4 separate regions of the Homo sapiens genome follow, and regions 1, 2 and 4 are each linked to region 3. Evidence: promoter capture Hi-C in human tissues and cell types (Jung and others, 2019). All regions are on one chromosome and are shown on one strand. Each heading gives the region's core, a stretch centred on a gene start or on the middle of the fragment in contact. The rest is flanking DNA. Distances are from core to core; before and after follow the strand shown. Region 1 has its middle 81 kb from the start of LINC01142. Region 2 overlaps LINC01681 (long intergenic non-protein coding RNA 1681). Region 3 holds the start of PRRX1 (paired related homeobox 1). Region 4 has its middle 43 kb from the start of LINC01142.

Region 1 (6,462 bases), core at 137-2,636, 300 kb after region 3:
AGATAATCACAAATCTAAGAAAGGACACTGGAATTCAACAGAGAAGTGACAGGAAGCACTGAAAACAAAGAAGGAGAGGGAAGTGAGGCAGCCTGCTCAGCCAAGATTGCCTGGGAGTTGGGAGAAGCTCTCAGATGCAGGGAAATGGTCAGTGAGACCTTCGGGGCTCCAAATTCTTGTCATGAACTTCAATTCTAGGCACTGGAGAGCCCCTCAACCCTCATGAGCATCAAGACTAACATAGGGAGCTGCCTAGAGATTGTACAAAGGCATTGTTTCAGAAAGGGAACTTAGGCTGAGTCCCACAGGCTTCTGAGCCTTGTGCAACTGTAACATTGTATCATTCTGAGAGCTCAGCCCCCAGAGGACTTTGTCCTACCCTGGGACCATCACTGCCATAGCTGCCACTGGGCCAAGGAGAACAAGAGGAGGATGGGTACTTTCTTCCGAGGACAAATCCCACCACTACTGCAGACTATTGTGGGGCCAAGATGTGAAGAAACTGTACACACCACAGCTGTCTGCCCGTGCTGCTCCCACTGAGAGTGGCACTGCCCTCCCTGGTAGCAGGCCCACAGCCAGTGCCATTTTGACAGCCCAGCCTCCAAAGCACTGTGATCTTCCCTGGGGCCACCAGGCCAAAGAAGGAGAGAGAAAGCTGGGCACTTTAACAAGCCCCGAGGACAAATACCACTGCCACTGCTATAGGCTGCTAAGAGACCAAGGTGTGAGCAAACTGCAAGCTCCACAGCTTACTGCTTTAGCTGCTCCCACTGAGAGTGGCCTTGCCCTCCCTGGAGGCAGCCTGCAGTGCAGCCACTGCTGCCCAAACCTGACAATTCTGCCAGCAGCCTAGGAACCATCTGCCCCTGCCTATCACAGCCACTGCCTGAACACACTTCCAGGGAACCTGAGGACAAAGTTATCAACTCAGTCCCATTTCCCTACTACTCTAGCATGCCATTTAGGGGCCTGGGGGTCTCTCAGCCCAGTTCATCACCAATGGTACCTGAACATTCCTCTTGGAGTCTGAAGCTGGGCTGACCCAACCTGTTGATACCACCACAGCTGGCAGTCACCCACATGAGCCACCTGCAGGTCAGCAGACTGGCCCACCCAACTTATCACAACCACCACCAATACCAGAATGGACTACCTGGGGTCCAGTGGGTTGCTCCACCACTGCTCCTGCCGTCACCCACATCACACCACTGCCTGGAGACCTAAGAACCCACCCGCATGCCTTGCCCACAGCTGCCACTACTGGCCTACCTGGACCTGCTAATACCAGTGGCAGCATACATCACTCTGAGGCTCAAGGACAGGTATGCTCAACCCACTGTTACCACCACTGGGGCCTGAAGACTGGCCCACCAGGCATCTTAGAACCCATAAAAACTTCATCATAGCCTCCACTAACAACTACACCCTAAGCCACTAAGGAAATCACAAATACCACTGACCCTGTTCACAGATGAAGAAATCACACAGAGACTACCTTACTGCATACACCCAATATCAAAGCCAGAGTGACCTACTCAACTGCAAACAGATATACATCTTCAGGAAAAGTTCTGCCCCATGAAATCAAATTAAAAAACTTGAAAGAAGTGTCTGTTACACCAAATGTGCAGATATCAATGTAAGGATGCAGGAAACATGAACAAGTAAGGAAATACAACACCTCCAAAGGAACTCAATAATTTTCCAGCAGCAGATCCCAATTAAAGAAACAAAATCCCAAATAAAGATGCAAAATACCGATTTTAAAGAAGCTCAATGAGACACAAGAGAATTCTGAAAAAAAAATTTAGAGGAATCAGAAAAATGATTCAGGTCATAAAAAAAAATTGCCAGAAAGATAACTATTTTAAAAAAGAATCGAACAGAAATTCTGAAACTGAATAATTCATTTACTAAAATGCAAAATATGTGTGAAAGCTTCAAAAATAGATGAGACCAAGCAGAAGAAAAAATCTCAGAACTTGAAGACTGGTCTTTTGAAATAATCCAGTCAGAAAAAGGTAAAGATAAAATAAAAAAGAATGAGCAAAGCCTTTGTGACATTTGGGACAACACAAAGTAATGGAATATTTGAATTATCAGTGTCCCTGAGGGCAAAGAGAGAAAGGAAAGATTAGAAAACCTATTTAACAAAATGCTAGATGAAAACTTCCCAAGTCTAGCAAGAAACTTAGATAACCAGATACAGGAAGCTCAAAGATCCTCAAATGAATACAATGCAAAAAGTTCTTCTTGATAGTACATTGTGGGCAAACTGTCTACAACCAAAGACAAAGAGAGGAGTCTTTAAAATGTAACAGAAAAGCATCTACACCTTTTTTTTTTTTTTTTGAGATGGGAGTCTTACACTGTCGCCTGGGCTGAAGTGCAATGGGGCGATCTCGGCTTACTGCAACCTCCACTTCCTAGGCTCATGTGACTCTCCTGCCTCAGCCTCCCAAGTAGCTGGGATTACAAGTGCACACCACCACACCTGGCTAATTTATTGTATTTTTAGTAGAGATGGGGTTTCACTGTGTTTGCCAGGCTGGTCTTGAACTCCTGACCCTGCGATCCACCTGCCTCAACCTCCCAAAGCGCTGGGGTTATAGGCGTGAGCACCACCACACCCAGCCCACATCTATACCTTTTAAAGAACACCCATCAGACTAATAGTGAATTTCTCGGCAGAAACCTTACAGGTCAAGAGATAATGGAATGACATATTCAAAGCACTGAAAGAAAAATATGCATGACACTATGTCAACAAAATTACCCTTCATGAATGAAAGAAAAATAAAGTCTTTCCCACACAAGCAAATGCTGAGAGTATTCATCACCACTAGGCTGGTCTACAGGAAATGCTCAGGGGAATTTGAAGCTGAAAGGACAACATTTGCCATCATGAAAACACATAAAAGTATAAATTCAACAGTAAAGCAAACACACAAATGAGAAAGAGAAATAACTCAAATGGTACCATTATACATAATCACCAAACCACGAAGACAATAGAAAAAAAGGAAAGGAACTAAGAATATACAAAACAACCAGAAAAAAATTAACAATATGATAAGAACAAAGCCTTACATATCAGCCATAACTCTGAATGTAAATGATTAAATTCTCCACTTAAAAATATGTAGACTGGCTAAATGGATAAAGAAGCATGATCCAATTATATGCTTCCTACAAGAAACATACTTTACCTGCAAAACACATATAGACTCAAGTAAAAAGAAGGAAAAAGTATTTCACACAAATGGAAGACAAAGATGCAAAGCAAGACAAAGCAAGCAGGAAAAACTATACTTAAATCAGATAAAACAAACCTTAAGAGAAAAACAGTAAAAAAATGAAATAAAAAAGTCACTAAATAATGGCAAAGAGATCAATCCAACAAGAAGAAATAACAATTCTAAATAAGTATGCACCAAACACTGGTGCACCCAGATTTACAAAGCAAATATAGCTAGATCTAAAGAGAAAAATAGACTCCAATGCAATAATAGTGGGGGACTTCAACACTCTACTTTAAGAGTTAGACAGATCATCTAGACAGAAAATCAATAAAGAAACAGGATTTAAACTGGACATTAGACCAAATGGACCTAACAGACATTTACAGGACATTTTGTCCAAAAACTACAGAAGATACATTATTCTCATCAGCACATGGAACATTCTCCAGGATAGACCATATGTTAGGCCACAAAATATGTCTCAAATTAAAAAAAAATCAAAATTATATAAAGTATCTTCTCACATCACAATGAATAAAACTGGAAATCAATACTAAGAGTAATTTTGAAAACTATACAGATACATAGAAAGTAAACAACATACTCCTGAACCTCCTTTGGGTCAACAAAGAATTAAGAATGAAGAAATTAAGATGGAAATAAAAAATGTTCTTGAAATAAATGAAAATGGAAACAAAACATACTCCAACCTGTGGGATACAGCAAATGCTAAGAGGGAAGCAATAAATGCCTGTATAAAAATACCTATATAAAAGTCAAAATACTTCAAATAAACAACCAAACATGTACCTCAAGGAACTAAATGGAGCAAGAGCAAACCAAACCCAAATTAACAGAAGCAATCAAACAATAAAGATCAGAGCAGAACTAAGTGAAATAGAGACTAAAAAACAGAAACTAGGTTCTTCAAAAAGGTAAAAGAAATTGAAAAACCACTAGCTAGACTAACCAGAGAAGACCCAAATTTTAAAATATCAGAAATGAAGAAAGGGAGACATTACAAAAGACACCACATAAATATTAAAGGTCAATGGAGATTATTATGAAAAAATATATACTAACAAACTGAAAACCTAGAGGAAATGGGTAAATTCATAGAAACCTATAAACTATCAAGATTGAATCAGAAAGAAATAGAAAACCTGAATCCACCAATTATGGGTAGCAAGATTTAATCAATAATAATAATAAAAAAGACAGGACAGGAAGAATGCACAGTCGAATTGTGCAAAACATATAAAGAACTATACCATCCTCCTGAAACTATTCCAAAAACTCAAAGTGAAGGAAACTTTTCCTAACTCATTCTATGAGGCCAGCACTAATCTGATACCAAAACCAAACAAGGACACACACACACACACACACACACACACACACAAAGAGAGACAGAGAGAAAGAAAAAAGAAAAGAAAAGAAAACTTACAGGCCAATACCCCTGATGAACCTAGACTCAAAAATCAACAACATACTAGCAAATTGAATACAACAGCAGATCAAAAGGAAGACACCACGATCAAGTGGGATTTATCCCAGGGATGCCAAGGATGGCTCAACATATACAAATCAATAAAGAAGCATAAAAAGCATTTGATAAAATTTAATATCCCTTTATGATAAAAAAAAACTCTCAATAAACTATGAATAGAAGGTACATATCTCAAAATAATAAAGAGCTTATATAACAAACCCACAGTTAGCATCATACTGAATGAGGAAAACCTGGAAGCTTTTCCTCTAAGATCTAGAACAAGACAAGGATGCCCCCTTTCACCACTTCTATTCATCATAGTACTGGAAGTCCTAGCCAGAGCAATCAGGCCAGAGAAAGAAATAAAAGACACAAAATTGTAAAGAGGAAGTCAAATTGACACTCTTTTTGATGATATGATCTTATATCTGAAAAAACCTAAAGTCTCCAACTAAAACTCATAGTTTTGATAAATGTAGGGAAGTTGCAGGATACTAAATCAATGTACAAAAATCAGTAGTCGTTTTATAATCCAACAACAATTCAGCTGAGAACCAAGTCAGGAAGGCAATCTCATTGCCAATAGCCACAATAAAGTAAAATATCTAGAAATAAATTTTACCCAGAGGTGAAGGACATCTACAAGTAAAACTACAAAACGCTGATGAAAAAAAAATTTGAAGATGATGCAAAGAAATGAAAAGATATCCCATCTTCACGGATAAACAAAAACTAATACCCTTAAAATAACCATACTGCCCAAAGCAATCTACAAATTTAATGAAATCTCTATCAAAACATCATTTTTTACAGAAATAGAAAAAACAGTCATAAAATTCATATGGCACCAAAAAAGAGCCAGAATAGCCAAAGCAATTCTGAGCAAAAGAACCAAGTCAGAGGCATCATATTATGTGACTTCAAAATATATTACAAGGCCATAGTAACCAAAACAGCATGGTATTGGTACAAAAACAGACATTTAGACCAATGGAATAGAGTTCAGAAATAAATATATGTATTTACAGCCATCTGATTTTCAGTTAAGGCATCAAGAACATACACTGAGAAAAGATACCCTTTGCATTAAATGGGGTTGGGAAAATTGAATACCTATATGCAGAAGAATGAAACTGGACCTATATCTCCTCCACATACAAAAATTATATCAGATGGATTGAAGACTTAAATACAAAACCTGAAACTATAAAATTGCCAGGAAAAAAAAGAACTTAAAAAATATTTCAAGATGTCAGTCTCGGGAAAGATTTCGTGGCTAAAGCACAGACAAATATAATGAAATTAGACAAATAAAACTATATTAACCTAAAAGCTTCTGCACAGCAAAGGACACAGTCAATAGAGTGAAGAGATGACCTGCTGGATGGGAGGAAATATTTGCAAATTACTCATCCAACAAGGGACTAACATCCAGATTATACAAGGAATTCAAACAGTTCAACAGTAAAAAAAAAAATAGTTTTTCAACTATTAGCCCCATTAAAAAGTGGGCTAAGGACCTGAATAGACATTTCTCAAGTGAAGACATAAATGACCAACAGGTATATGACAAAATACTCAACATTACTAATCATCAGGGAAACAAAAATCAAAACCACAATGAGATGACATCTTGCCCCAGTTAGAATGGCTATCATTAAAAAGACAAAAAATGCTGGTAAGGATGTGGAGAAAAGAGAAGCCTTATACACTGTTGGCACAAAT
Region 2 (5,767 bases), core at 3,268-5,767, 460 kb after region 3:
GGGACACAGCCAAACCATATAATTCCACTCTGGACCTTCCCAAATTTCATGTCCTCACATTTCAAAACACAATCATGGCTTTCCAACAGTCCCCCAAAATCTTAGCTCATCCTGGCATTAACCCAAAAGTCCAAGTCCAATGTCTCATCTGGGACAAGGCAAGTCCCTTCTGCCTATGAGCCTATAAAGACAAAAGCAAGCTAGTTGCTTCTTAGATACAATGGGGGTACAGGCATTGAGTAAATACACCCATTCCAAGTGGGAGAAATTGGCCAAAACAAAGGGTTTATAGGCCCTATGCAAGTCCAAACTCCAATGAGACAGTCATTAAACCTTAAAGTTCCAAAATGATCTCCTTTGAAACCATGTCTCAAATCCAGGTCACACTGATGCAAGAGGTGGGTTCCCATAGCCTTGGGCAGCTCCACTTCTGTAGCTTTGCAGGCTACAGCCTGGCTGCTTTCATGGGCTGGCATTGAGCACCTGCAGCTTTTCCAGATGCATGGTGCAAGCTGTCAGTGGATCCATCATTTTGGGGTCTGGAGGATGGTGGCCTTCTTCTCACAGCTCCACTAGGTAGTGCCCCAGTGGGGACTCTGTGTGGGGGATCTGACCCCACAGTTTCCTTCCACACTGCTCTAGCAGAGGTTCTTTACAAGAGCTCCACCCCTGCAGCAAAATTCTGCATGGACATCCCGGCATTTCCAAACATCCTCTGAAATATAGACAGAGGTTCCCAAACCTCAATTCTTGATTTCTATGCACCTGCAGACCCAACACCACATGTAAACTGCCAATGCTTGGGGCTTACACCCTCTGAAGCAATGGCCTGAGATGTAGGTTGGCCCCTTTTAGCCACAGCTGGAGCTGAAGCAGCTGGGACACTGGGTACCAAGTCCTGAGGCTGCATGGAGCAGGTGGGCCCTGGGCCTAGCCCACAAAACCATTTTTTCCTCCTAGACCTCTGGGTCTGTGATGGGAGGGGCTGCCATGAAGGTCTCTGACATGCCCTGCAGACATTTTCCCCATTGTCTTGGTAATTAATATTCAGCTCCTCATAACTTATGCAAATTTCTGCAGCCAGCTTCAATTTCTCCCCAGAAAATGAGGTTCCTTTTCTATTGCATTGTTAGGCTGCAAATTTCCCAAACTTTAATGCTCTGCTTCCTCTTGAATGCTTTGCCACTTAGAAATTTCTTCTGCCAGGTACCCTAAGTCATCTCTCTCAAGTTCAAAGCCCACCGATCTTTAGGCAGGAGCAAAATACTGCCAGTCTCTTTGCACAGCAAAAGTGACCTTTACTGTAGTTCCCAGCAAGTTCATCATCTCCATGTGAGACCACCTCAGCCTGGACTTCATTGTCCATATCACTATCAGCATTTTTGTCGAAGCCATTCAACAAGTCTCTAGGATGTTCCAAACTTTTCCACATCTTCCTGTCTTCTGAGCCCTCCAAGTCTCTAGGAAGTTTCAAACTTTCCCACATTTTCCTGTCTTATTCTGAGCCCTCCAAACATTCCAACCTCTGCCTGTTACCCAGTTCCAAAATCACTTCTACATTTTCAGGTATTTTTACAGCAGCACCCCACTCTGTGCAGTACCAATTTACTGTATTAGTATATATACAGCAGCACTCTCATGCTGCTATAAGGACATAACTGAGACTGGGTAACTTATTATATAAAGGAAAGATGTTTAACTGACTCACAGTTCAGCATGGCTGGGGAGGCCTCAGAAAACTTACAAACATGGCAGAAGGGGAAGCAAAGACATCCTTCTTCACAAGAAGGCAGGAAGGAGAAGAATGAGAATTCAGCGAAGGGGGAAGCCCCTTATAAAACCATCAGATCTTGTGAGAACTTACTCACTATTACAAGGATAGCATGGGGGAAACCACCCCCATGATTCAATTATCTCCCACCAGATCCCTCCAACCACATGTGGGGATTATGGGAACTACAATTCAAGATGAGATTTGCATGGGGACACAGCCAAACCATATTATCACATAAGCATTTTAATTATCTTATCTCAATTAACTTCCAAATTTTCACAAATGCAAAGTTATGTTTCATACTCTTAAATTATAAATTTAAAGTTTAATTACAACTTTGATTATTTCAACCTTTCTCCCCCAATATTTTTCATCTCTCCTAGAGAGGTTTTGGCTAAAAGCATGGATTTGGAGTTAGAGATACCCAAAGTCATATTTACTTGGCATGTAAATGGATAAATTACTTATTCCTTTCTGATACTTCATTTGCTTTTCTGAAAATAATATCTAGGTCCATTACCAAGATGTGTTGAGATGACATAAGTAAGAGGCTTCACTAAACCTTGACACAGAGTGAAAACTCAAAAAATATAGAGAAAATGGAAAGAAGGAAGTGAGGAAGAGGAGGAGAAAAGCGAAAGAGAACAAAAGAAAACATGAAGAGAAGGAGAAGGATAGGCAAAAGAAAAAAGGGGAAAAGAAGTGGAAGAAGAGACAACAAAAAGAAGAAGGAGGAGAAGGAGGTAGGGGACAGAAAGAAAGGACAAAACAGAATAGGGAAAAAAGAGTAAGAAGAACAAGAAAGTAAGAGGAAGAGAAAAATGATGATGATGCTGATGATGACAATGACAATTATGATGAGGAGGAGGATGTTTATTTTAATACAGGGATGAACACTGAGAAACAGAAAGGTTGAAGTGTGTTTTAAAGCCCAGACAAAACCCTAATCATCTGCAACTTAATGCAATGTGATTTTTCCCCAGAAAGCTTTGGTATTACACATGGTGACTCTCTCTTATGCAGTTTGAATCTGGCTATTCCAAATATTACTACAAAAAAATTACTATTTAGTTAAGGAATATAACACTTGGGTAATAATCCTCATATTTCAAAGAAATGGATGACTCATTAAGATTCCAGTGCAATCAAAGAACCTGGAGAAATCCCTGGAGTTAGTTTTAGTCAAATATGAGACACAGCTAAATTAAATGAGTAAAAAATAAAATAAGTGATTCATTGAGTTTCTTATATAATCACTAGATGCTCTCCTTCTTCAATAATGGCAGAACAAGAGGAAAGAGCCCCCTTTTTTTCCTGACATAAGAGAGAGGCCCTCTTGACAGTGAGGGCTGATAAAAGCCCCTTAGTTACCATCCCACTGGTTACAAGTCACTTCCTACAGAAAATTTAAAGCACAGTCAAGTGTGGGTAAAGGGCAGTGCAAATGAATACAGGTGGAGAACTAGAAAGATCTCTCAGAGGACTTTCTAGGCCAACGCTTTTGTACTGCAGTCAATTCTCATTTGTTTTCCATAATGGAGTATTGGGGGAGGGGGAAGTGAAAACCTTTTACTTCTTTAGGTTTGCTTGTGAGCATGAGTCTCTCTTTGTCTTCTAATCTCTCTGATGCTGACATGGGTCCTGCATCTGTAGCATTCTCCTTCTTGCTATGAAAAACACATGCAGCCTTTCCTTCTGTCTGTACTTCCTGATCCACTCTACTTATGGTTCCAGCTTTCATTAACATGCACTGAAGCCTGAGACTTTCTGAATTTTCCAAGTGCCATAATTCTACTAGCCTCCCCTACATTTTAGGTTGCATTATCACTAGCAACCATTTCTCAGATACATTCATAGATATTGTTGCTAGTTCTCATCTTCCTTCTACAAAGTTAGAGTTTAATCTAATGCTATCCCTTTATCATCATCACTGTAACCTTCACCCTCTAGCTCAGATGCCATTACCTTTGCATTTAAGATTTCACTTTGGAATCTTGTTACCTTGCATCACAATTCCAGTAGAACGACTTAACCCAAAAAAGGCAAAAAAAAAAAAAAAAAAGGAAACTCTTGCATTGGCCTGAATTAATAATGGAGAAAGGGGAGAAGTCTAATCTTTCCAGTGCAGAAGATGTGTGCATTGTTTGTTGTGAGTAGCCCTTGGGGAGGGAAAGATTTCAAGTTCAGCATTTATGTGGCACATTTTTCAATTAGACAATATACTGTATGGTATTTCCCTTCCTCCCCCAACCCCGTCTCTTTTATTACCACATGATTTCATCTCCCCGTGTGACTGACAAAGCCCATTGGGCTCAACACTGATAAAAAACATCTGTGGGAGAAAAATTGCAATTTAGAAAACAATTAAGTACATCATTTTCTTTTCATTTAGTTGGCTAGAGAAAGAAAAGTTCTTTCAAAGAGGTAACTTGATCTACAATGATCATGGATTAAAGGACACGCAGATCTGTTTTCTCCAGGCTGTAGTGTGGAGGAATGCATCCTAACTCAGAGGGCTACATGTAGACATACACCTCTAAGTTGCAAGTTTTAAAAAAGAATAAACTACTGAGAGTTTCTCTATGTCTCTGATGTCTTCTGATTTTTAAGACATTCTTCTATTCTTATTGAATTTGTGAGAACTTAAGAGCTTCCTTAAAGGATGTGTATTTCCCTCAGTCAAATGCTCACCATATGCTCATTTGTTATGGGAACTCTGTAAGTGAACCTTGGCTTACTGTTACAGACCCTATCTGAAAGACTGAGGGGTGGGGTGTGTGTGCATGTGTGTGTGTATGCTGACTTTCCCTTTCATTTTTTCCTCACTAGTTCTGTGAGAACCCATGAGTCCATTACTCTGAGCTCAGAATCTTTATGAACCATGGCCTTATTTTTTATCTGCAAAATCTTAAAGAAAAAATTTTAATACCAACAGGATTGATTCTGGGTGTCTCCTCCCTGGCCAGAAGCATATGTCTAGGTAAAGATTATAACCACTGCTCTCACTCACTGAGTATCTACTATAGAAGAGTCACTGTAATTCACACCTTGATTAAAATATCTCAGTTATTTGTCACATCAATCCCATTAAGTAGGTGTTGCCATTCCTATATTTTACAGAAGAGAAATTGATAATCCTCCTATTTTAAGCACTAAAATGCTTACCCACAGAAAACAAGAATGATTTGAACTCATATTTCTCAGCTTCTTAAGTTCAGGCTCTAAATAACAAATCCAGAAAATTAGCAGCTAGGAAATAAACTCTAAAAAGTCTGAGCCATTGATAAGTCTGAAATGAAAGTTTTTTGCCACATTTAAATAAGGAACATATAAAAAGTAACTATTTAGTACCTGGCCCAAGGTAGTTCTTTAGTGAAACCATCTCTACCCATTCCCTGCCTCTTATCTTTTCTCAAACTTCATAGTGCACATAAGATTATCATGTACAATAGGCCCGGCACGGTGGCTCACGCCTGTAGTCCCAGCACTTTGGGAGGCCAAGGCAAGTGGATCACCTGAGGTCAGAAGTTCGAAACCAGCCTGGCCAACATGGTGAAACCCCGTCTCTACTAAAAATACAAAAAGCTAGCTGGGAGGGGTGGTGTGTGCCTGTAATCCCAGCTACTTGGGAGGCTGAGACAGGAGAATCGCTTGAACCTGGGAGGCAGAGGTTGCAGTGAGCCAAGATCACGCCACTGCACTCCAGCCCGGGCAACAGAGCGAGACTCCATCTCAAAAAATAAAAAATAAAAATAAAAAAAAAAGGAAGTGTATCAAGTACACTAGTGAGGCTTTATTACAGTCCCCACTTATCATCACCTCTCTGTTCTAAAGACTTAAAAACAAGATCTGGAAGCAAGCATTTCATGCTATTGGTTGAGAAACAGTGACTATTAGGAACCCCCATTCAAAGAAGGGGCCAATCAGTGGAAAAGGTCCTAAGGAGACCTCACTCGTTTTCTTTTAAAGTTTGTCTTGTGAACCAGCATAACA
Region 3 (6,211 bases), core at 775-3,274:
GCCACCGCGCCTGGACTCTCCCTACATTTTTCGTTTTTCATTTTCCCTGGTAAAACGTTTAAAAACAATCATAGTATTTCTCAGTGCATTTTGTTAGAACTAAGAGTGCCTATGCAAACACTTAAGTAATGCTGCGGGTGCAGCCTCTCAAGCACCCAAACCCTAAAGAGAACGTCTCTGTCTCTGCGCCTAGCCCTTTATGCGGAACTTGAGGACACCTGGTTCTTCATTCCTCAGAGTTGGCCACCTTTCTCTGGTGTCCAGGCCAGACTTCCTCATTCAGTTCCTGTAGCAGTCTGCTAATGCATTGGGTGGATCGGCCCTAGGCCGCTTTTGGCTAAAAACACCCAGGGGCGCCCAGGCCGGAACTAAGGAAGCAGGGTGAAGACCAGGCGTCTTGAGCACACCAGAGGCTCTCTCTGCGGCTTGCTGTAGCGTGGCCCGCGGGGCCACCACTGTGCCCGGACCCTGTTTCCAATTGTTTCTATGTGCAGTTTGATTTGTATGTCTATTCTTTGAGAGTCTGAAATAGGCAACGTTTTGTGAAAATCATAGAATGCTGGAGGGCCCCCCGGTTCCACGATTTCCAAATTTGAAGACAAAAATGGTAACCAGCAACTACTGACATAGAAAGCAACCAGCCTCATTTGAGAACTTACAGCTAAGTTCAGACTCTTGCAACCTCGAGGAGAAGAGGGAGTATCTGTACATATCTGGCCACATGTCACCTGGGATGAACAGGGTGACCGGTCTGTTACAGACTTGGGGGCATGGGGATACAATTGCAGTCTCTTTTTAAGGCACTAGCGAAGCGAGATTTTCATGGGTCGCGAGGTTGGTCGGTGAGGATGGGGAAGGGAAACTGGACTTTTCTGGGCGTTTAAGAGCCAATAGGGAGAGCTCCTCTAAGGTGACACTGGCCTCCGCACTGAAGCTCGCGCCTCCCGGATGCAGCTCGCCTGTGCGGGATCATGCGGGGCTGGATTTCAGGTTTCACCCTTAAAGGACATTCCCTTTGCTTGGCCCGAGTTTTCCCAAGCCAGCCGGGCTTTTGACTCTGCCAGTCTCAAACCCATTTGCGGTAGAGGCAACAGCAGGGGGCAGAGAGCAGCTCCAGCGTCTGGGGCCGGGCGTTCTCTCGGGGCCTCCCGGTCGCGCCCGGCCTTACGGTGCCCGCGTGGAGAGTGCAGCCTGAGCAGCGCCAAGTCCTGCTCCCTGTGCCTGGTGCCCTCCCTCAAGCCGTCATACGCTGCCCGAGAGAAGCCCTTCCAACCCGACTCAGCATCTTTAACCTGCTGCTTTCCCAAACAGCGCTGGCTCTCTGAGTTTGCACCCCGCTAAGACCTTTTCCCAGCCCAGCCCCGCCGCCCCGCGTGCGGGATGAACCGAGCCGGTGCCTAGCCGAAGTAAAGAGAGTCCGCCGCGGACAGAGTCCCTGCCTGAGACCGCAGGGCCTCGGAGTGTCCCCGGACCTTGGAGCCTCTCTCCAGCGTCCTCCTTGGCTATGCCCTCGGCCGAGACCCGCTTTTCTCATCTGGTTTCCCCTGTGACTGGCCCTTCCTTTGAAGTCTGCCATCACCTCTCCTGGTCCCAGGACCTTGTCTTTCTGGCCGCGGACGGGCTCTAGCTGCCCTACACGGGTCCCCGCCCTCTGTCCCGGGCACACACCCCCGTGGGCATGCGCCCCTCACTCACTGTCCTGCTGCGGGGTGTCGCTGCCGCTGGTGAGTCCCGGCGACTCCAGCAGGCTCCGGCCAGCCTCGCCCACGTTCTCATCCGCCTGTGCCGCCACCATGTCCCCGGCTTCCTCCAGGTCTAGCAGGTGACTGACGGAGAAGTTCTTTTTCGCCTGCAGGGTGTCGAGGTTGCCCGGGCTGTCCAAGCGGCCGCCCAGCGCCGGTTGCCGCTCCAGAACGTGCCCGTAGCTGGAGGTCATGGTCTCCCCCACCGATCCCACCCACCCCCCTCTTCCCGCTCGAATCAACACCAAACGCTGTGGGCGCGAGGGGGGAGAGGAGCCGAGTGGGGAAGAAAGAGGGGGGTAGTGGAGAGAGAGAGAGAGAGAGGGAGGAAGAGGGAGGGAAGGAGAGGAAGGCCAAAAAAAAAAAATTGGAAAAGAGGGTGGGGGACCCCCTTCTGTAGAGCAGAGCGTTGTGCACCAGCCGCCTTCCGCAGCATTGGTTGATTTCCTGAGGCCAAGTCCGGCGCGGTCCAAAGAGATAATCCACAGTAAAATACAATATTAAAAAGTCACCCTATGTTCAAGTCAGGAGAAAAAAATCCCTTCCAACTCTCCAAAAGTGTCCACACGCACAGACTAAAAATAATAACAAGGGGGAGAGAGGAAAGCGGAGGCCAGCAGGGCGGGGGAGTTAGGCAAACAGAAGAAGAGAGAAGAAGGGGTGGGAGAGAAGAATCAAAGTGAATGGTTTTTTTAAAGGTTAAAAAAGTTATTCCCAGGCAAGAGTTCAAGCACCAACAGAAGAAGGCTTGTTCCAGCTTTAAAACATCTTCAAGAAAACGTGTTCCCCCCTCTCTGCACTCCTGTGGATTCTCAGGAGTGACTAAAGTTTCAGGAGGAGAGGGTGATGTCTTGCAGATGTATTAGAGAGCAGGATTCTCACTTTACTTTTTGTAAAGAGTAAAAAAAAAAATTAAGAATTAAAAAAAAAAGGCTTCAAGAGTCCGACGGAGGGTGCTGGTGGGTTCCCCCCTTTCCCCTTCTCTCTCTCCCCCTCTTCTTGCTGGGCTCCTTTTTCCTTCTCAGTTGGATCAAGAAGCTCTCTGGCACTTCAAAAGGCACAAACTGGCATGCAGAGGAGGCTTTGTAGGGAATACAAGAAAATTGGAGACCCCTGGGAGGGCAGATCTCGACTTAATAGGAGCCTGTAATTACGTGGCAAAGCCTTTGTGCTGTGCCTGACGTTTCACAGACCCCCTTTCTCCATCACAATCTCCTTCTTCCTCCTTTCCCTGGGACCAAAAAACAGTCTGATTAAGAAAACCCCCTTTGCCAACATCAGAGTTAGAGAGAAAGGGAGAGGGAGGGAACAAGAGAGAGGGAGGGAGAGAGGGAGGGAGGGAGGGAGGAAGGGAGAGAGAGAGAGAGAGAAAGAGAGAAGAGAAATGAGAGAGGGAAGAGAGCAAGAGAGCCCCTTTGGATTTCTAAAGGTCTAATTATCATTCCCCTGCAATAATATCACGGGGAGAAAAGACAAACTGAAACTCACAGTCACTTCAAACGTGCTGATTATTTTGCTTCGGCATTAACTCCTCCAGATTTGTTTAAGATCCTGTTGGAAAATCTCATTTGCATGTTTTGATAACAGCTGTGGGGAAATTTGGAAAAAATCCACCACCATCACAATCAAATTTTCTTCTCCTTCTGCCTTCCCCCAAACCGCCCCCCCCCAAAAAAAAATTTTCTGCTGTTCTAACAGTTTGGGGCGGAGTACAGGGAGAAAGTAAGCATATTAAGGCTATTTTTGGTTCCGTAGAGGGAGCCTATTAAATAATGTAATAAAAATAACAAAAGGGATGATAATAGGAAGTTCTCTCACGCCTCTCGCAAGGACTAAAGGCAGGTTGGGGAGATCCAGAGGGCACCGAGTTTATTTGAGGCTTTCCCCGCCATTAGGCATACCAGGACTAGGGCAATGAGAAAAGTACGTGTTTATTAAACTGGAAGAAAGGACTCCAAATATATATTATAATCTTTCTCCCTACCCCCGCCAATTTTGTAACTTCTACGGTAAGGCCAAAGTTGCTTCCCCAGGCGAGGACGCTAAACCCAGAGGGTCCCGCTGCCCAGATTCCTTGAAGCAGGCAGGAGCACTCCCAGAGGCAGGAGTTGGGGAGGCTTCCGTGCGGTTCTGCGTCCAGCCTGGCTGTGGTGGCAGGAGGACAGAGAGGGGCGGAGGAACCCCCATCTAAGTCTACGGATAATCCTCTGTCGTCCGTCTGCGGAGCCCTAACCTGACAGAAGACAGAGAGGTGCTGAGCAGTTTTTTCATGACCTGTTGGAATTTGGTAACAGCTTTAACAGTCTCATTAGAAATGAGTTACTGTATGACGACTCAGTAAAATATTAAGTGCTTATTTGTGGCGTTTTATGTTCTTTAAACGCGCACTCACACACACACACACGCATCCGTACTCCCGCACTCCCTTGATTGCTAGACTTTTTTTTTTTTTCGTCCTATAGTCAAGAGGCTCGACTGGAGAGAAAGAAGGGTACGAGTGTGTGTAAATGGTTTCTGGGCTCCAAACGGCCATAGTTAGCCCAGAACTTCCAGCCCTGATCTGGGAAAAGAACATTTGATGCCATCAAAGGGCTGTAGATTGAAACCAGATGTGCTCGCCTCGGTTCTTTCCATGCATTTAATTAAGGAACTGGGATGGAGGAGACTTTTTCATCATTAGTCCACCCACTCCCCCCTCCTCTCGGCGGTCTTTCGCCCTCCCCCCACTCTCCCCGCCCCCACCCCCATCCCTTGGCCGCTCGAACCCCCGACCGGGAGCCCAGAGCCCTGCCAGCGCCGCACTGTGCGCCGCGCAAGTCGCTCGATCTCCCCAGCGGTACCGGCTCTAAGCAGTAAACATCTGTGCGCTTCTGAGCCAGGGACGCGCGTGGGGGGTGGGCGTGCACGCGGGTGGGCCAGCGCAGAGTGGGAGCTTGTGGGTGCTTTCCGTCGGGATTTCCAACTCAGCTGCCTCCGAGAGCCTAAGCTGAGCGCCGCACGTGCTCGTGCCATCTGCTGTACTGGACGCAGTCTAATAGCGCAGAGAGGTTTCCATCCGGCATCCAGTTCGATGTGGGCCGTTTTTCCCTTCCCAGCGGTCTGTCCTTGGAGCTGATCAGTCTCCCCAAAACCTCCCTAGAAATAGAGCAGCTCCTCGCCTCTCCCTCCTTTCGCACTCTCTATCCTCATTTACACAGTTGCGTTTTAACGTTGCTGTTTTTCCCCTACACATACCCAATTGCCCGTCGTGACAAAGGTGTGGGTAAGGGCTGGGGACTTTTGGCACCCCCAAGACACGATGTTCCCCCTAAAGATCCAGCGTCCTCAGTCATTTAGGGGGTCAGCGTCCTCAGATCGCCCTTTCGAGGAAATTGCCTTATCCGGGTGAATGGTCAATATGGTTGGGGAGCGAGGAATAGCTACAAGCAAGAGAGTTTATAGATGGGCATCCGGAGGCATACGCAGTCGGCTCCGCTGATATTCGGACGCATTCTCTAGAGGGACCGGGCGCTTCTTGAAAATCACCCACTTGTCATTCGTGTTAATATCAACCAGTACCACCAATACCAACTAGGATGCTAACGGTTTCAAGAAAAACACCGCACACATTTACTAATTTATGGACTATATATATATTATATAATATACACAATGTATAATATGAATGTATAATATGAATATGTATAATATGAATTTCTATGTTCTATGAATTTTCCCCAAATGTCTTTCAGACTGATGGCTCAGATACCCGCCAATGAGCTGGGCTTGTCAGACCTGTGCAGCGCCGCTCCTGCAGCTCTAGAAGCGCAAGGTCGGGGAGCCCACCTCTAGAAAAGGAGGTGGTCTTTGAAGAGTGAGGAACGGAGACTGTCTTTGAGTCCTCGGAGCTGGAACTCGGGAGCAGAGTCCCAGGGTATTCAGGAAAAGGGAAGAGCTGCGTCGGGGACTTAGTCGCGGTCCCCGGGCGGGTGGGGGGCGCGAAGCAAGCAGCAGGGCCCGCTCCCGCCGTTCCGCAGTGCTTTTCTCAGAATCCCGCGGAGGTCACCAGAGCGCTAAGGCTTGAGAGACTCTTCACCACTACGGAGAGGCTGCTCTTTCCTGGGATATCCCGTAGGCCTCAGCTGCAGGGACCAAGCCCTGGATTCCTCTAGCCCCGACATCACCGCAGGGAGTTTCGAGGCAGGGTGGGCTGCGGGACGCGTTGGGACAGTCTCCTAGGAAGCAAATCACAAAGGCAAACACCCTGCAGAACTGATCCCCCCCACCGCCCCCCGGCTTTTCTTGCTTGTTTAAGTCTTTGTGGGTTTTTTCTTTTCCTTTTTTTCTATTAGCAATTACAAGTGGATTGGATCCACACTCTGATTATGTTTACACACATTTGTAATTTGTTGAGAGTCTGGATTGCAATTTTAAAAATCGGGATAACCCTTCAGGGAAATTCAAGACAGAGCTGATAATGCGTTCACCTC
Region 4 (6,378 bases), core at 1,117-3,616, 340 kb after region 3:
GTATGATGGGATAACAATAAATAGGCATGATTTATCCAAAATCATGATCTATGCGTTGTCTCTAATCTTTTTCTTGGTATCATCCTTTTTTTCCCCAATATATGCTTGGAAATGTCATTCCTGGAAACATAAAGAGCCAATAAACCAAATGTAGTAGCTTCTCAGTATAGAAATTCAGTGTCTAAGAATGAGAATCTAGAGTCAAGTCCTTGGGCAAGATCTAGAAGCCAGATCAACCTGATCTGTTCCTTGGCATGTGAGCATTTCTTTTGATAGCCCCAGGATAATCATTAGGTAATGTGATTGCAAGTGGAAGACAAAAAATAGCCCAAGTTTTAGGTGCACTGACAAAGTATGGGGTAAATTTAGAGCTGAGGCCTGCATTGTTTTATTACTGAGTTTTCTTCTATAATTTGTATAAATTATACAGGCATAATTTGTCAAACAGCACTAACAATCAATTGCCATTGGTACAAAGAAGTCAACAGATTTTAATCTCCTAAGAAAAATTAAAGGAGGGAATTAACACTGAGCACTTACCATGTACCTTACACTGCTCTGGACTATTCTGTATTACATTATTTAATTCTCATACAAACAGTTGAGATGGGTGCTTTTACCCCAATTTTATAGGTAAAGAAACAGAAGCAAAGAGATTATTTAACTTTCCTAAGATCACTAAGTAATGGAGCCAGCTTTCAAATCCAAGGATACCTTGATCCAAAAGCCATTCTCTTTACCGAATAACAGAGCTTCCCTCTTGTTCGTATATTTTTTGTATAATACTTGGACAGTCCGGGCATTGTCTCTCATTGTGTGATCCGCAGACCTTATGTGTCAGAATCATCTGGGATACCTATTAATGATGCAAATTCCTGGACTCCATTCCTGAAATAGGAGTCAGAATTTCAATGGGTAAGTTTCCAGAATCTGGTTTGCTAACAAGCTTCCCAAGTGCTCCTTATGCACTCGGAAGTTTGAGAGACAATGATCTGCATACTCATACACTTCAAAGAGGGTAGAATAATAGAGAATATCACAAAGCCTGCGCCAAAGATACTGATGTTTGTAGCAGGTGCTATCAATGCCCTGTGCATATCCCTGGGCCTTAACCATGTCATTCAGGCAGCGAGCTTCAGCTGTCAGTATCTTATGCATTCTCCTTGGGCTTTTCCTCCAAGACTTGGATAAAGGTCTCTTTGTATACATGGTAGACAAGCAGTACCAGAGAAATAACTACTGTACCCTCTGCCACCTGCAGTTCTTAACCAATGGCTGGTAGGAGCTGAATACTTGGGCGGAGGAGTCTGAGGCTTGTTTTCTACACCGTTTTCCAAAGATTCCCCTGTAAGATTAAGTTTCTGTTATCCACAGTGGTCGTTGTCTTAATATCTGACCTTGTGTTTGCTGCCTTCTCTTCTGTCTCACTCCTATAGTTTTTTATCAATTTTTCCAGTTTGACCCTTACATACTGCTTGCATTTGAATCTTTGTCTCTCAGTCTGCTTCTGGAGAAACCCCAAATAGGAAAATAATTAGCTAAAAACTCTCCAATTATAGCATCTTCTTCCGTGTGTTGGGCTGCCATGTTTCTTTCCTTCTTCCTTCACTGAGACAGCTGCTAACTTCTGGACTAATTTCAATCATCTGGCAGGTGTTTCTTTAGAAAACACATGCCAAATGCTGTGTTTTGTGAATCAGCACCTATGTTTTCTAAATCAGCTCTCTGGCCTCTTCTCAGCCCATCACATCCATCCATCCTTCATGATAAAGTGCAAAGAGTATAAGATTATGAATGCAGCTGAAACTGGGTTCAAATCCTGATGTTTCTGTTTACTGGTTTTGTGACCTTCACAAGTTTCTAAGCATCTCTGGGCTTCCGTGTTCTCATATGTAAAATAAGAACAAAATCTACCTCAGATACTCAGTGAGAGGATTAAGTAAAAGAACATGTGAAGGTATGTTTGTTCTCTCCCTTCCTTCCTCAGGTCTCATAAATTTTCTGAAGACTGTCATCACTCTAGTTCCTGGTGATCTATTTCTCCTTTATCTGAACTTGATGGCTTTTATTGATCATCCAATTCATGTTGATATTCATGAAAAATTAACTAACAATACCTAGCAATAACTAATATCTAATGTCCTCCCTACAACAAGATTGTAGGTCTCTTGAATGCAGCTGTGTCTTAAATTTATTTATATTCCTCTGGCCTTACATATCAAGGATATTTGATAAATTCTTTTGTTGATTTGTTAACCATCAGTGATTATTAGCAATCTCTAACTCAATTATCTATAGTTGATCTTTACACACTTCAGTCTGTATAGCTGGCACCAGCTACAGGCAGTTATAAACTCCTATGGGCCTATAGAGGGAACTTAAAACAAACATCCTATTCTCCCAATGAGGGCTTAAATTTCCAGAAAGTTCAGGACATGAGTGATGTGCAGGTTGGCAAGACATGTTTTTGCAGAACTTCTTGTCAGACATGAGGGGCATGGAAGAACTGAGTTCTGGCTGGAACCCTTCTTCAAATGGATATAGTGTTTTGGAGGAGGCAAGGAGTTTTGAGAACACGGTATTCTTTGTGCAAAAATTGTAACTTGGCTTCTCCCTACTCAACTCTATACTAGAATCTGGTCCAGTGAATATTTATTATTTACCTGCTTCCACCCATCATGCCCAATCCCTACATTATATCACCAATATTTATTACTGCATTCTGGAAGGCATCATTAAAGCTCCCTTTTATGTTGTTTCGTAAAAAACACATGTGACACCTTATTCTTTTTTGGTTAGAGTTCTTTCTGCTTCTCCTAATAAATTATCTTTGCAAAATAATTTCTATGAGTTCTATTTAAATTTCAAATGCTATTTCTTTCCTTTACAAAGTCTGGTCCATGTGCAACTTTCCAACTTTGTTTTATATTCTGTAATTTCTGGAGGCACAACCAAACCACAAGTCTCCTTTGAATATAGTGGAAACAATCAAGTATTTAAATTATCATCAGTAATAATTATTACCAGTATTATGAAAAGATGTCTTTGATCCTGCCTCCTTCAGTGTCTCCACTTAAAACTCAAGAGACTTTTAAAAATGTTACTTCTTTTCCCCACCGTTCCCTTCTCCAGGCCTTAAACATTTTTTTCTTCTTGGAACTGTGATCCTATTGCCTGACATTCAAGTTAAAATTGGAAGAAAGATCACAGTTTATAGAAGGAAGAAAGCTTAATGATCCATGTACACTTAGCCACATCCATTTCCTTTCAGAGCTTATACTGATAGGTAAAAGCATCCCTCAGTAATTAGGACAACATATATTCCTAGTCCCCAGCTTCAGAATCTTCCTGTCACAGAGCCATTACATGTGCTATATTTGATGGCTTCTGAAGTACGTCAAACCAGGCAAAGTGTGTGGACTTCTCAAGGGTTAGCCAAAATTGTCCACAGGCCATTCAGAGGTAACAAAGGATATCACCCTGCTTAAACAAAATCCAGGGAGCTTTTAATGGGAGTGGAGCAACCATAGATTTAGCACTGAGCACAACCACAAAGGCTGAGTAATATGAATAGTAGAGTTCTGAAGAAGTTGAGCCTGGTTTCAATATCACACTCTGGTCTTACAGTCCAGCAAAGAGCAATAAGTTGAAGTTTGGGAAAATGAACTACAATCTGGGGAACATATGAAGAATAATCAGGGAGTGATTTATAATACTCTTCTTGGCAATGAGGAAAGTGTTGCGTGAAGAGCAATATACAGAGGTATCTATCTTGTCCTATTGTGGTCTGTGCTTTTTTTTTTTTTTTTTTTTTTTTCATTCAGCATTTGGATACTAAACCCAGGTGTCAAGTATAATGACAGGCACCATGTTCATTTAAATGAAATTCCAGACCCTCCCTCGGTCACTTTTTGAAGTTGTCTAGGGCAAAGAACTCTTTGTCTAAATGAAGCTTGCATTACTTTTCCACCCTGTAATTATAAAGGCCTTTTTACTCCCATCCAACTGGAGTTGAGATATTCAGCCACACTGTCTTGGGAAGCATTCTTCATAAAATATAAAAATGACACATTGTTAATAAATAAAACTTCAGAAAAGATGAGATACACATTCCCTAAATGTTAAACCCTACTTTTGTGGCCACTAGAAGAAAAACATCTATATGAAACCTTGTTTTTTACCTCAATCACTAGGAAGAATCAGAGTATTTTTAATTGATGGAGGAAAGAATTTATAAAATCAAGTGATCCTTTCTCAGAAAAGAGACAGAGAATTTTAAATGCCAAAACCAAATTATCTGATCTCTTCAAAAAGATTAAATTGTTTTACTTCTGATCTTAGGGAAAATAGAATTCATACTTACTTTTTCCACTTTACAAACTTTCTGGTTATTTAATCCATTAAAGGAAAAGTTACACTTCTTTTTGTTTTTTGGTGCATGTTCTCAAGTAATTTGGTAAAATGATTAGATCCAAAAGGAAGGAGAACGAATACACATTCCCCTCAGAGAGGTTCTGGTTCTTCATAGAGATATGTGTTTACAAGTTTTTAAGGCTAGACTGGACGGAAGTCATGGACATCTGTCTTAGACATCGATTCCTGGTGCCAATAACTAATTCCTTCCCAGAAGTCTTTGTGTTTCCTCACTGTGATGGTGCTTGTGATGCTTTCAAAGAGCCATGTCTCACAATCACAGAACAATTTTCAGTTCCAACCTCAGGAATCAGCTCATCATCATCATTTTGAAAAATACAGGGTGGTTTCAATGACATTGAACAAGACCCTTGTGAGAAAATCTTCTGGATGAATTATATTCCAGTATATAAAGAGGAATTAAAGAAAGGCTGTACACCATCTATCTCAGGTGGTTTATATGAGGATTAAATTAGATAAGCTTGGCAAAATACCTGGCACATAGTAAATTCTCAACAAATATTATTGGCTTAGCCTTTTCTATGAGCTTTTGTGTCTTATCCAAAAGTTGCCAATGACATGTGATAGTCAATGTTGTTGTTTAAACCAAATTTCATATGTGAACACTGGTTTTTAATGCAAAGAAATTTGAAATATTATAACTTATTTTGTCTTATTAGTAAAGTAATATAATGTATGTTCAATATATAATGTTTGAAAAACATAGGAAAATAGAAAAAGTACATAAAAGTCACCCAGAGATACTACAGTTGACACTGTGTTGTACAGGCTTTTAGTCATCCTTAAAAAAAAATAACAAAATTAGCATCACAGTGTTCTATACTGTGCTTTTTGTACTTACCAATATACCATAAATATTTTCATGCCATTAAATATTATTATTTTTAAACAATGGCATAGTTTACTATTTTGTGAATATACTATTCATTTAATTTATCTCCTATTTTTAAACATTTAGATAATTCTCAGTTTTTCTCAATTATAAATAATAATCTGATAAGAAACTTTTGTTCATAATAAAATAAGTTTGCCCACTCTCACCACTCCTACTCACCATAGTACTGGAAGTCCTAGCTAGAGCAATCAGGCAAGAGAAAGACAGAAAAGACATCTAAATAGAAAGAGAGGAAGTCGAACAATCTCTCTTTTAAGATGATAAGATACTATATCTAGAAAACTCCAGAGTCTCTGCACGCTTCTCAATCTGATAAACAACTTCAGCAAAGTTTCAGGATAAAAAAATCAATGCATGAAAACCAGTAGCATTTCTTTCTTTCTTTCTTTCTTTTTTGAGACGGAGTTTCGCTCTTGTTGCCCAAGCTGGAGTGCAACGGCACGATCTCGGCTCACTGGAAACTCTGCCTCCCAGGTTCAAGCGATTCTCCTGTCTCAGCCTCCTGAGTAGCTGGGATTACAGGCACCCGCCACTATGCCCGGCTGATTTTTGGTATTTTTAGTAGAGATGGGCTTTCAACATGTTGGCCAGGCTGATCTCGAACCCCTGACCTCAGGTGATCTGCGTGCCTCGGCCTCCCAAAGTGCTAGGATTACAGGTGTGAGCTACCACGCCCAGCGAAAACGGGTAGCATTTCTATGCGTCAATAATGTCCAATCTGAGAGCCAAATCAAGAATGCAATCCCATTCACAATAGCCACAAAAAGAGTAAAATGCCTAGGAATACAGCCAGCCAGGGAGGTGAAAGATCTCTAAAACAAGAATTACAAAACACGGCTGAAATAAGTCAGAGATGATGCAAACAAATGAAAAAACATTCCATGCTCATGGATAGTATGAATTAATATCATTAAAATGGCCATACTGCCCCAATTTACAGATTTAATGCTATTCCTACCAAATTACCAATGACATTTTTCACAGAATTAGAAAAACCCATTCTAAAATTCACATGGAAACAAATAGAGTCCAAATAGCCAAAGCAATCC

What was found. The method cuts DNA at HindIII sites, captures the fragments that hold promoters and counts their contacts. A contact is called where the count stands out against the background at its distance.
Region 1: a fragment that was not itself captured here is called in contact with the fragment with the promoter of PRRX1 in region 3 in 2 of the 25 tissues and cell types used here (hippocampus and thymus).
Region 2: a fragment that was not itself captured here is called in contact with the fragment with the promoter of PRRX1 in region 3 in 1 of the 25 tissues and cell types used here (stomach).
Region 4: a contact is called between a fragment that was not itself captured here and the fragment with the promoter of PRRX1 in region 3, in 2 of the 25 tissues and cell types used here (adrenal gland and bladder).

Annotation. Positions count from the first base shown.
Region 1 is chr1:170,361,904-170,368,365 of GRCh38, reverse strand. No RefSeq gene overlaps it. Among named protein-coding and RNA genes, the nearest start is that of LINC01142, 81 kb to the right of the region's middle. The HindIII fragment of the contact is 8,294 bases long and covers 1-5,533 here.
Region 2 is chr1:170,202,616-170,208,382 of GRCh38, reverse strand. All of the region lies in intron 1 of LINC01681 (long intergenic non-protein coding RNA 1681), which reads right to left. Among named protein-coding and RNA genes, the nearest start is that of LINC01681, 31 kb to the right of the region's middle. The HindIII fragment of the contact is 7,588 bases long and covers 724-5,767 here.
Region 3 is chr1:170,659,944-170,666,154 of GRCh38, reverse strand. It overlaps PRRX1 (paired related homeobox 1), which reads right to left and starts at 2,024. Exons shown (of 4, transcript NM_022716.4): 1 at 1,696-2,024. The coding sequence starts at 1,936. LOC105371610 (a long non-coding RNA gene) reads right to left here. Exons shown (of 4, transcript XR_922277.2): 4 at 5,872-5,956. RefSeq lists enhancers at 531-1,391, 2,592-3,119. The HindIII fragment of the contact is 17,405 bases long and covers 1-6,211 here.
Region 4 is chr1:170,323,658-170,330,035 of GRCh38, reverse strand. No RefSeq gene overlaps it. Among named protein-coding and RNA genes, the nearest start is that of LINC01142, 43 kb to the right of the region's middle. The HindIII fragment of the contact is 4,115 bases long and covers 309-4,423 here.